4 separate regions of the Homo sapiens genome follow, and regions 1, 3 and 4 are each linked to region 2. Evidence: promoter capture Hi-C in 16 types of primary human blood cells and fetal thymus (Javierre and others, 2016). All regions are on one chromosome and are shown on one strand. The core of a region is centred on a gene start or on the middle of the fragment in contact, and the rest is flanking DNA. Distances in the headings are between cores, read along the strand shown.

Region 1 (2,700 bases), core at 59-2,558, 310 kb after region 2:
GTAATCCCAACATTTTGGGAGGCTAAGGTGGGCGGATCACTTGAGGTCAGGAGTTCTAGACCAGCCTGGGCAACATGGTGAAACCCCGTCTCTACTAAAAATACAAAAATTAGCCAGGTGTGGTGGTGCACACCTGTAATCGCAGCTACTCAGAAGGCTGAGGCAGGAGAATTGCTTGAACCTGGAAGGTGGAGGTTGCAGTGAGCCGAGATGGCGTCACTGTACTGCAGCCTGGGTGACAGAGCGAGACTAGATCTCAGGAAAAAAAATCATGTAACTATAACAAACAGGTAGCAATGTTCGCCCTAATAGATTACCATTTTTAGTTCTTTTAGCTATTTCTTCTGGAATTTACCTCAGTATTTTAAATTAACATCCTATATCTCATCTGTTGACTTCCTGCAATAGTAGATGAAGATAGAGCTGTCTTACACCTTCCTCCTACTTTACAAAAATGGTTCTTTCACAATATTTGATTAAAGTCAAAAAATTTACACAAAGCTAAAAGACAGGCATCTACAGATGGAAGGGGCAGGCTATGTGCCCAGCACAGTTATTGATGACAAGACCCACCCACTTATGAAATACCAGGAGAGCAGATACAAAGAAAAGACTGTAAAAGCTTTAGGGGAGGCTAATTTGTTGTATTAGAAAATAATTCAAGAAAGGTTAAAATACTTTAAATCCTCACTTTATATCATCGATAGGTTCTTGGAAACTGCAACTTTATGTGAAATGATGTATAATGAAACCAGTTTTTTTTCCTCAGCTTTATGTTATGTTATGTTATGTTATGTTATGTTATGTTATGTTATGTTATTTTTTTGAGACAGAGTCTCGCTCTCGCCCAGGCTGGAGTGCAGTGGCGCGATCTCGGCTCACTGCAAGCTCTGCCTCCCAGGTTCACGCCATTCTCCTGCCTCAGCCTCCCAAGTAACTGGGACTACAGGGGCCCGCTACCATGCCCGGCTAATTTTTTTGTATTTTTAGTAGAGACGGGGTTTCACCGTGTTAGCCAGGTTGATCTCGATCTCCTGATCTTGTGATCCGCCTGCCTCAGCCTCCCAAAGTGCTGGGATTACAGGCGTGAGCCACCGTGCCCGGCCTCATCAACTTTATAATGAGACAGTTTTGAAGGAAATGATGTCATTCGAGGACCTCCCATAGTCGCTTCACGGAAGGTTGCAGTTTGAAGGAAACTGTCAGCGACCCTATGAGGACACACTGTACTGGACAACAGTGGTGTCTAAGCTGAGAGGGGTGGCAGAGTTCCCAGCTTTTAAAATTTCTTACAGTGATAGCATCATATGAAAGTAAAACCATTTTCTTGAAAGAAATGAAGGAAGGAAGAAAAGGTAGAGTTCCTAATTGTTTGGAAGACATACTGTTAGACTTCCTGTCTTAGTATGCATGCCAGTATTTTAAGAATAACCACTAAAATAATATAAATATAGTATGTAACTTCCAAAACAGCGGAGAAGAAAAGGAGAAGTAAAAATACTTAAATCCCCAAAGAAGACAAGCAAGGAGAAAAATAAAACAAAAATCAGATAAGTAGAAATTTCAGCCCAGTATGGTAGAAATAAATCTAAATATATCTATAATCATAAGTATAGCTTGACTAAACTTGTCAGCTAAAAAACAAGTTGTCAAACTGGATTTCAAAAACAACTCTGTTTACAGGGAACATGCCTAAAACAAGGATACAGAAAAGACCAAAGTCAAAGGAGAAGAAAAGATATACCAGAAAATAATCTGAAAGAAAGCTGCAGTAGTTATGTTAATATAAGATAAAATAGGATATTAAAGAAAAATATTAGGGATAAAGAATAAAGAGGGTCATTATAATTTTAAAAGGGCTAATTTCCTAGGAAGATACAAGAATCCTAAACTTCCATCTACCTAATAAAAAAGCCTTGATATGTAAAGCAGAAATTGACAAAACCACACACAAGAAACAAGCCTAGTGATTGCTGGGTTGAGTAGACAAAGAGTAAAGCTTTTTTTGGAAGATTGAGACAGCACAGTGAAAAGCAAGATTTAATAGACATGCGCAGAACACTGTTCCCTGCGTTGGGAGAACACTGTTTGCCCAAGCTTACATCAAACACTTAGAAAACTTTAGCAAAAATTAACCACAAAGCAGGCAAGTCAGCAATTTCCCTTTTTTTTTTTTTTTTTTTTTTTTTTTTTTTTTTTTTTTTTTTTTTTTTTTTTTTTTTTTTTTTTTTTTTTTTTTTTTTTTTTGGAGACAGAGACTTGCTCTTTTGCCCAGGCTGGAGTGCAGTGGTGCGATCTTGGCTCACTGCAACCTCTGCTTCCCAGATTCAAGTGATTCTCATGCCTCAGCCTCCTGAGTAGCTGGGATTATGGGCGTGTGCCACTACCTCCTGGCTAATTTTTGTATTTTTAGTAGAGATGGGGTTTCACCATGTTGGCCAGGCTGGTCTCAAACTCCTGACCTCAGGTGATCCACCTGCCTCAGCCTCCTAGAGTGCTGGGATTACAGGCATGAGCCACTGTGCTCGGCCTAAGTCAGCAGATTTCTGACTGATGCAATTAACTACATACATGATGCAATTAAGTTAGGAACCAAGAACAAACAACTGAAAAATAGAAATACGTTTGAAGACTAAAACTCACTTCTGAATAATCTATGGTCCAAAGAAGAAATCAAAGGTAGAAAGTAAAATACGCTTA
Region 2 (2,700 bases), core at 181-2,680:
GAAATGAGGATAAGCCACAACTCTGAAAGACAGTAATTTCAGCCTAAAGGTAAATGACATCCAACAGCCCCCGTATTTCCCAAATCTACAAATCTGTGTTAATTATTTAAAAACCACCTACTAAGAGTGTAAATGGGGCCAGACACTGTGGCTCACAGGTGTAATCCCAACACTGCGAGGCCGAGGCAGGAGGATCGCTTGATGCCAGGAGTTTGAGACCCCTTTGGGCAACATAGCGAAACCCATTTCTACAAAAAATAAAAACAAAGCCGGATGCGGCGGCGCGGACCTGTGCTTGGAGAATGCAGTGAGCTATGATGGCACTCTCGTCTGGGCGACAGGTGGGACCCTGTCCCTAAACAAAGCGAGCCTATTTGGCACAGCTTTGATGCGGGGTGGAATCTGATGGCGGGGAAAAAAAAAAAAAGTAATAACCACCAATTTCATGCTCTGCCACTTCGTACAGCTATACCAGCCTTTTCCTTCAGATTCTGCAAGTTTTTTGCTCATTAAAACTCTCTTTATCTGTGAGGAGAGAAATCGGTAGTCAACGGGGAAGGTGGTGACTTTCAGATTTGTTTACGAAAAAAATTAGGAATCTATCAAGAAACAGTAAGCTCTGTAGGTATCCAAAGGCCTGACAGCAAACGCTCTGCTAAGTTAGCGCTGCCGTCTCCTGGGGTCAATGCACTCGAGTGGCGTTTCCTGGGCTAACTCTACTGTAAGAAGCTGTCAACCCGGATACGGCTGGACGCCGGACGCCCGACCTCGACTGCAGCTGCGGGCGGACAGGGCACCGGGCTCATCCGAGGGCGCGCGGATGGACCTACTCTTTTTCTGGTAAATGGTCCTAAAATAAAACCTGGCGTTTAACATGGACACTCAGGGGGTCGCCCTGAAACAAAAGGGGGTGCGAGGCGTGGCCCGCACGTGCGAGCCCGGGAGGCCCGCTTTCCCGCGGAGGGCGCGTTTCCAACGCCGCCCCGGACACCACATCCACGCGTTGCCGGTCTCAAAACCCTGCCGCGCGCGGCGGGGCTCCTCCTCGCTGTGGGAAAAGTGGGGCCACAGCGCCCTGCCCCAGAGAACGGCGGGTGGGCTGGGTCCGGCTGCGGGGCCCCGAGGCCCTTTCTGCGGAGGTAAAGGAGAGAAACGAGGGCAGCCGGGGTCCGGTCGCGGTGGGACTCGGCCCTCCCCGGCCGCAAACCCGACCCAGGCCCGGCCCGCCCTTACCGTTTTGGGAGCGGATCGTTTCCCCAGTGCTGCGGTCACCGAACACGGACAAAGGCCCCTCCATCTTGACGGCAGCGATACACGTCGAATTCTGCTTACACCGCGGGCAACCAGTATCGCGGCCCCTCGGCCGACCGGCGACCACAGCAGTGGCTGCGACGGCGTGGAGCGTACCCGAGCGATGTCCCAGGAGCTACTGGGTAACACACCACCCCACCCGCTTCCCGGCTGCCCCGGCCCGGCCGCGGGGCACGGCGGGAAGGAAAAAGAGGCAGGGACAACAGGGAGAGAAACAGGACTGTGACGGAAGTGAGGCTCCGGGGAAGGGGCGGGGTCGGCATTTTTGTCCAATTAGATAGCCGATGGGAAGGGCGCGAAAGCGGAGAACGGAAGTCGGATGTTGGACCGCTGGGAAGAGGTTGAACCTTCGCCTCAAACGATGTTGCGCAGACGCAGTGGGCCATTCTAGTGCCTTCTAGAAAAGGTTGTAAGAAGGGTGGAGCTTGGAGCTGGGGTGTAACTGGAGGGGCGGGCCCTTCTCCAAGTTAGAGTTGGGGTTCTGAGCGAGTCGTGCGTTTTAGGTTTAGTGTCTTTTCCTTGTCCCTGCTCGGGGAGCGTGAGGCAGATCGGCCGGCTTTGCTCCAGGCCTCAGGAGTGTAAGTTTAAGGGCGCGAACCTGGGTGGGACGGGGCAGTTTTTCCAGCGGGCCATACGGGAAAATTTTTGGTTCGAGGAAGACAACCACCCTTTTTAAGGAGAAAACTGCATCTTGCCCTGCCTTATTCCTACGCGGTGCCCAGGTGGGGTGTGTGTGGACCAGTCGATGACCGCCCAAGCTCTCCGAGTAGAAAACCCAAACATGGTTTTGTGGGGTGTGTGCCTTTGACCCCGGACTTAAGCAACAAGCGTGGTCTTGGGCGTAGCTACGAGGTGGTTGGTGGGCTCCAGGGCCTGCGTGCCCCTCGACGTGAGCGATGATTGGCGATGAAGGATAACAGATCGCCTTCTCGGCCACTCAGTGGCAGGGGACTTGCTACTTCCGGGTCGGTGGCGTCTGGCGTGGAGAGTTTGGGGATCTACAGCAGCCAAAGGCTTGTCCCTGACTTTATATGGCTGCTCCTGGCGAGCGACTGAGTCGTCCGTGAGGAAAAAGAGGCGAGGCTTTTCCGAGATCGTCTCAGCGATGGCGCTTCGGTCGCGGTTTTGGGGGTTGTTCTCGGTTTGCAGGAACCCTGGTAATTAGTCTTGCCCCCCTTCTCCCAGCTCACTCGCCTGGGCTTGCACAGTACATTGGAACGTGCGGGTTCTATTTTGTATTCGACGTGCCGGATCGAAATAGAGCTCGCGGCACTGCGAAGACCACAGTAGGAAGTTAAGGACGGGGTCAGTGCTGACTCCACCCTGTGGGCATACGTATTTTTCGTCCCCTCGGGCCTAAAGATTGGGGGTGTAAAAGCGGATAGACGT
Region 3 (2,700 bases), core at 80-2,579, 280 kb after region 2:
TCTGACTTATGTGAAAGAAATAGCAGGTATTTTGAAGTGACTCTTAGAAAGCGTATGAAGTTCTGCAGCGTGTGTGACATTTATTGCCTGATGAAGTTCTGTTCTAGCCTGGGGAGTCACTAAAGGCAACTCTTTCTTGTGTCTGGTGCTGCAGAGCCGTGCCCTCCAGAAGCAGCCGCGTGTCTGCTGGGTGGCTCCAAGCCCGTGAACCTCGGCAGGGTAAGGGACGGACCTCAGTGGAGAGATGGCATAATTGTCCTGAAATACGTTGATGGCGACTTATGTCCAGATGGGATTCGGAAAAAGTCAACCACCATCCGATTCACCTGCAGCGAGAGCCAAGTGGTAAGGGACTGTTCCTGCACCTTCTGCTGTTGCAGCTTTGGGAATTGAGCCCATGTGCAGGGCGGTGAGCCGCACGTCCTCATCTGCCTTGGGATGCGAGTTCTAGAGCCTGGGATGATGCGCCCTTACCAGAGGTTGGGGGAACAGCGTCGCCGCGGCCTGCAATCTGGGGAACCCTCGTGCTGTCTGGCTCCTTAGAAGCTTGCCTGGCAGTTCCCGACTCAGAATTGGTTCTCTTCAGAGTTTGACTCAGACCCCTAAAGGCTGTGGAGGAGATTGTTGTTTGACTACATGCCCTTTTGTCTTCACGGCGGCAGCTTGGGAAGCACGAGAAGGTTGGCTGGGCCCGGGTCACAGGTAGCGCTGCCACTTCCCAGCCACATAACTTGGTTAATTACTCAGGTAGTCTGCCCTGCTCAGCCGTTCATAACATGAGGCATACTTGTCCTGCCCATTGCAGGGTTTCGAGAGAAGAGGTAGGAAGTGCCAGGTGTCATTTCTGACACACGGGAGATGCACAGTCAGTGAGCATGAGTGCCTGTGATCAGTTCTTCCCTTACTTGTTTGGCATGCACGTAAGCAGGTGTCGACTGCATACAGGTTTTTCTGTGTGTGAGATTGTGGTGAGCCCCAGTGCTAGCGTGCATGACAAGCTCGGTGGCTGAGTTGGGCATTAACTCGGGCAAGACCAGCTCGCTGGGTGTCAGGGTGGCTCGCCCCATGCTCTCCAGCGGTGGGCAGCAGTGGTAGGGGAGCTTGGGATGGGGGGCTCCAGGAGCTTCAGGCCTGCCCTCTTGCCTGGAGCGGCAGGGAAGTTTCCTCTTGGGAAGATTGTGCAGAGGCTTAGTCCAGACTCATGAGCTGCTGGGGCCTCTGAGCATTCTCCTCTGTGACCTGAGAGGCTCATGGCCGAGGACAAAAGGGCTGCCCCACATGTGGGGGGCAAAGGTGAGAGGGTGTGTGGGGCCCCTGTGCCCAGGGCCCAGAAGGCTGGGAGGGAAGGGTGAAGGGGTGTGTGGGGTTCCCCATGTCCAGAGCCCAGGAGGCTGGGAGGGAAGGATGAGGGTGGTGTGTGGGGGCCTCTGTGCCCCAGACCCAGGAGGCTGGGAGGGAAAGGTGAAGGGTGTGTGGAGGCCCTGTGCCCCAGACCCAGGAGGCTGGGAGGGAAGGGTGGGGGTGTGTCGAGGCCCCTGTGCCCAGGGCCCAGGAGGCTGGGAGGGAAGGGTGGGGGTGTGTCGAGGCCCCTGTGCCCAGGGCCTGGGAGGCTGGACTGCAGCGTGGCTTATCAGGGTGCCCAGCAGGAATCATGGGGTTTACCTGGGAAGGAAGGTGCTGCTGAACTCATCATGCTAACTCTGCAGTGGACATGAAGCGTTTTGAGATGAGCAGAGTAAGCCTTGGCTGGTGCCAGTGGGAGGATGCGTGGAATGGGCTAGTTCTCTTGGTATATCTTTTTGTTTTGACTGTGATAATGGATTTTACCTCATTTGGTTTTTAGAATTTTATCAATGATTTACACATTTGTGTCTCCCTGTAGCCCTTCCAGCATCCTTTGCACGCCTGTCCCCAACCCCTGTCCTGTTCCTCAGCCTGAGGGAGCTTCCTGGTCCCCTAAGTGTGTTGCTGCCTGTGGGTGTTTCACTTACCTGCAGGGGAAGCCCATGGTGGCAGCTCAGGACACATTCTGACCCTTTGCTTTTCCTAATCTGCGCCTCATCCCACAGGCACATGGAGACAGAAATGTCACATGCTGTGGAGTTTTTCAGAGAAGCTTCCACTTGTAAGTTGAAATCATGATAGACATGGAGTTTTTGCGTGATCCCTTCAGGACCTGTCTGTGCTTTGTTGTAGAACTCCAGGCCCATGTTCATCAGCGCCGTGGAGGACTGTGAGTACACCTTTGCCTGGCCCACAGCCACAGCCTGTCCCATGAAGAGCAACGAGCATGATGACTGCCAGGTCACCAACCCAAGCACAGGTGAGAGGTGGTGCCAGTCGTTAACCCCAGCGCAGGTGAGAGACGGTGCCCCCACCAAACCCAGCTCATCAGGGGAGAGACCCAAAGAGAAGCTATGGGCAGCAGGCGCCCTGGGCAGAGGTGTCATGGTGTGTGGGTGTGTTTGGCCTTTCTCTGGATGGGCTGCTGTGTGTTCTCCTGGCTCTCCTTCAGTGGAGGAGAGAATGCTCCCACAGAGAATCCATCCCTCCTGTCACTCTCCTGGTGTGAGAGGTGCTCCTGACTGGGGTTACTGACAGTGTCAGTCCAGCAGCTCTAGGCTCTCCAGGGCAGGTTAGAGCTAGCCCCTGGCTGCCTTTCAGCATCAGTGTAGTGGATTGCCAGGAGTCTCTCACCTG
Region 4 (2,700 bases), core at 71-2,570, 260 kb after region 2:
ATAAATTATGTTTGAAAAGGCTTTCGTGTGAATTCTAGGCAAGAAACCTCTCTGAGGGAGACCTTACAAGAAGGCCATAATATCATGCTCGTCCTACTTTGAACATGCTGTTGTTTATTAGCCCAGCAGTTATGGGCTTTGAATAGCGCTTTAGGCTAACCCAGTAGAAGGGAATGGTGGAGTTGGATCCATCTCCAAGGAAAATGTTAGTAATCGCGGTTCTGGTGGCCTCAAGGGGCAGCGTCTCTTCTGCCTCCTCCACTTCTTCCTGCCGTTGGGAACCTCCTGGGAAGAACCTCTCCCTTTCAAACTGTGGGGTGAGACCACTCTGTTAACTGTCGGACTGACCTTCCATACTTTTATTGTTTTTATTCTTTCTTAGGGTTTTCTTTTGACTTATCACCTCTCACAAAGAAAAATGGTGCCTATAAAGTTGAGACAAAGAAGTATGACTTTTATATAAATGTGTGTGGCCCGGTGTCTGTGAGCCCCTGTCAGCCAGACTCAGGAGCCTGCCAGGTGGCAAAAAGGCAAGTAGCTTCTCAGTTCTGTTTCATTCTTAGGCATTATATGCTAAGAAATATTATTTTCAGGAATAGGTGTGTTCTCACTTAATGTCATTGCTTTATGACAAGCATTTAAATACTGATGAGACCTGGTCTGAAAACTGAAGGATGTTAGGAGTTTAATTTCCCAGAGAAAGGAGCAGGCCCATCCTTGGGAAAGAAGGGTGGATTGAGGTTATGCCTCACTATTGCGCATTTTGTGCTTCTCAGTGCCTAGATATCTCTGTGCGTATTTCTGCATTCTGCGTAACTGCAGTTCAAATGAAGTGAGTTGTCTAAACCAGCGGTGCCAAGAGGAGATTTGGGTCCCAGTGTTCCTGCTGCCGTTGGAGACCTTGTGTGGGTTCCTGTGGTCTGCAGCCCGGGCCTGGTTCTGGTGACTCCTCACGTCGCTCACGGGCCCTCCCTTCAGTGTGGCAGCCTTGGAGTGCTTCTGCCCCTCAGGTCTTTGCTGAGAGAAACGTGTGTTTATTTCAGTGATGAGAAGACTTGGAACTTGGGTCTGAGTAATGCGAAGCTTTCATATTATGATGGGATGATCCAACTGAACTACAGAGGCGGCACACCCTATAACAATGAAAGACACACACCGAGAGCTACGCTCATCACCTTTCTCTGTGATCGAGACGCGGGAGTGGGCTTCCCTGAATATCAGGTAGGAATGTTTGTTCCTCATCGCGCTCCCTGAGGATACTCATGCCTGTGGTGGGCCTTTCATTTAAGCAGAGCTTGTATCAGTCTGGGTTTCCAGCCAAATCATCACCGTCATTAGATTTGCCAGGGTGCCTGGGCAGTATTAGTATTTTAAGCTGTTTATTTAGTGGGTTGTGCACCTTAATAACAGCCCACAAGCCTGTCAGTTTTGGGTACAAAACATACAAAAGCATAAAAAAAAATCCTGAATTAACCCCCACTTAGCAGAGGCTAAATTTTCATCCTGATTTGTTACTGGACAGTCTTCTTTTTAATAAAATGAAGGGAGATGGGCAGACTAAGCTTTTCTTCACAGTTTCTCATTGGGAACATTGCTCTCGTCCTTTTTTGAATCCTGGTTTTATGTCACGTGTCTTTCTCTTTTTGCCATCCCTCCGCGCATCTGCCGTGGATTAGGAAGAGGATAACTCCACCTACAACTTCCGGTGGTACACCAGCTATGCCTGCCCGGAGGAGCCCCTGGAATGCGTAGTGACCGACCCCTCCACGCTGGAGCAGTACGACCTCTCCAGGTGAGGCAGAGTCAGCTGCTCTGTTTTTGGCCTGGTACAGATGCTGAGGTTGCAAGTGTTGCTGGTGAGCGTGTGACTGAGCTGATGATGGGGAGTGATGCTGGCTGTGGGGCTGCAGGACCAAGGTGGGGCATTTTCAGCAGAGTGAATTCTAATAACTGTCTGGTCGCCTTTGGGATAGCAACCAGTCTTGGCCACAGCAGAGCCTCGGCCTTTAGCTTCATCATTTAAAACAATGACTGTCAGTGCAGAGGCACGGGGGACAGTTAAGGTCCACTGCATACTGAGTTCAGCGAAGGTGGAGTGTAATCCTGGTGCGTCATGCGCCCAGACAAGCCAACTCCTGGTAGTGTGATTGGTGGAGCATGTTTTATTTGGTAGCTTTACTTCCCCAACTACATAGAAATAAATGAGACTGAAATGTGTAAGCTCTTTAAAAGCATATACATTTTGCTTTGAAATTTTAGTCTGGCAAAATCTGAAGGTGGCCTTGGAGGAAACTGGTATGCCATGGACAACTCAGGGGAACATGTCACGTGGAGGAAATACTACATTAACGTGTGTCGGCCTCTGAATCCAGTGCCGGGCTGCAACCGATATGCATCGGCTTGCCAGATGAAGTATGAAAAAGATCAGGTGAATCTGTTTTCACTGCTTGTCTCCTTTGCCCTCCTAATTCCATGACTTAGTGGGAGGAGGTGGTTATTCTGGGACATCCAGATCAAAGGCAGCACAGCTGCTCGAGAGAAACCCTCTGAGTAGGAGTGGGGCCTCCATGTGAACTCATCTGCCTCCTGTAGGAGCAGAAGTGTGTCACACAGGAATCATTGTTCACATGGAGAATGCTGTGTTGCAGACTTTTGATCACACAAAGGGCAGAGGAAGCACCGAATGGTTATGTCTAGCCT

Evidence for each region. Contacts are between HindIII fragments. The CHiCAGO score rates a contact against its expected background, and 5 or more counts as called.
Region 1: a contact is called between a fragment that was not itself captured here and the fragment with the promoter of TCP1 in region 2, in 8 of 17 cell types (neutrophils, monocytes, erythroblasts and 5 more). The highest score is 9.5, in neutrophils.
Region 3: a contact is called between a fragment that was not itself captured here and the fragment with the promoter of TCP1 in region 2, in 6 of 17 cell types (neutrophils, total B cells, naive B cells and 3 more). The highest score is 12.4, in neutrophils.
Region 4: a contact is called between a fragment that was not itself captured here and the fragment with the promoter of TCP1 in region 2, in 4 of 17 cell types (fetal thymus, neutrophils, M2 macrophages and 1 more). The highest score is 6.8, in fetal thymus.

Annotation. Positions count from the first base shown.
Region 1 is chr6:160,098,561-160,101,260 of GRCh38, forward strand. All of the region lies in intron 45 of IGF2R (insulin like growth factor 2 receptor), which reads left to right. Among named protein-coding and RNA genes, the nearest start is that of SLC22A1, 22 kb to the right of the region's middle. The HindIII fragment of the contact is 1,377 bases long and covers 621-1,997 here.
Region 2 is chr6:159,788,172-159,790,871 of GRCh38, forward strand. TCP1 (t-complex 1) reads right to left here and starts at 1,431. Exons shown (of 12, transcript NM_030752.3): 1 at 1,234-1,431. The coding sequence starts at 1,297. MRPL18 (mitochondrial ribosomal protein L18) reads left to right here and starts at 2,296. Exons shown (of 4, transcript NM_014161.5): 1 at 2,296-2,468. The coding sequence starts at 2,417. RefSeq lists enhancers at 629-1,293, 1,294-1,957, 2,214-2,393, 2,424-2,483. The HindIII fragment of the contact is 4,019 bases long and covers 1-2,700 here.
Region 3 is chr6:160,069,714-160,072,413 of GRCh38, forward strand. It overlaps IGF2R (insulin like growth factor 2 receptor), which reads left to right. Exons shown (of 48, transcript NM_000876.4): 31 at 155-345; 32 at 2,197-2,323. Among named protein-coding and RNA genes, the nearest start is that of SLC22A1, 51 kb to the right of the region's middle. The HindIII fragment of the contact is 1,570 bases long and covers 545-2,114 here.
Region 4 is chr6:160,046,116-160,048,815 of GRCh38, forward strand. IGF2R (insulin like growth factor 2 receptor) reads left to right here. Exons shown (of 48, transcript NM_000876.4): 15 at 383-530; 16 at 1,044-1,221; 17 at 1,677-1,792; 18 at 2,260-2,428. Among named protein-coding and RNA genes, the nearest start is that of AIRN, 40 kb to the left of the region's middle. The HindIII fragment of the contact is 479 bases long and covers 1,082-1,560 here.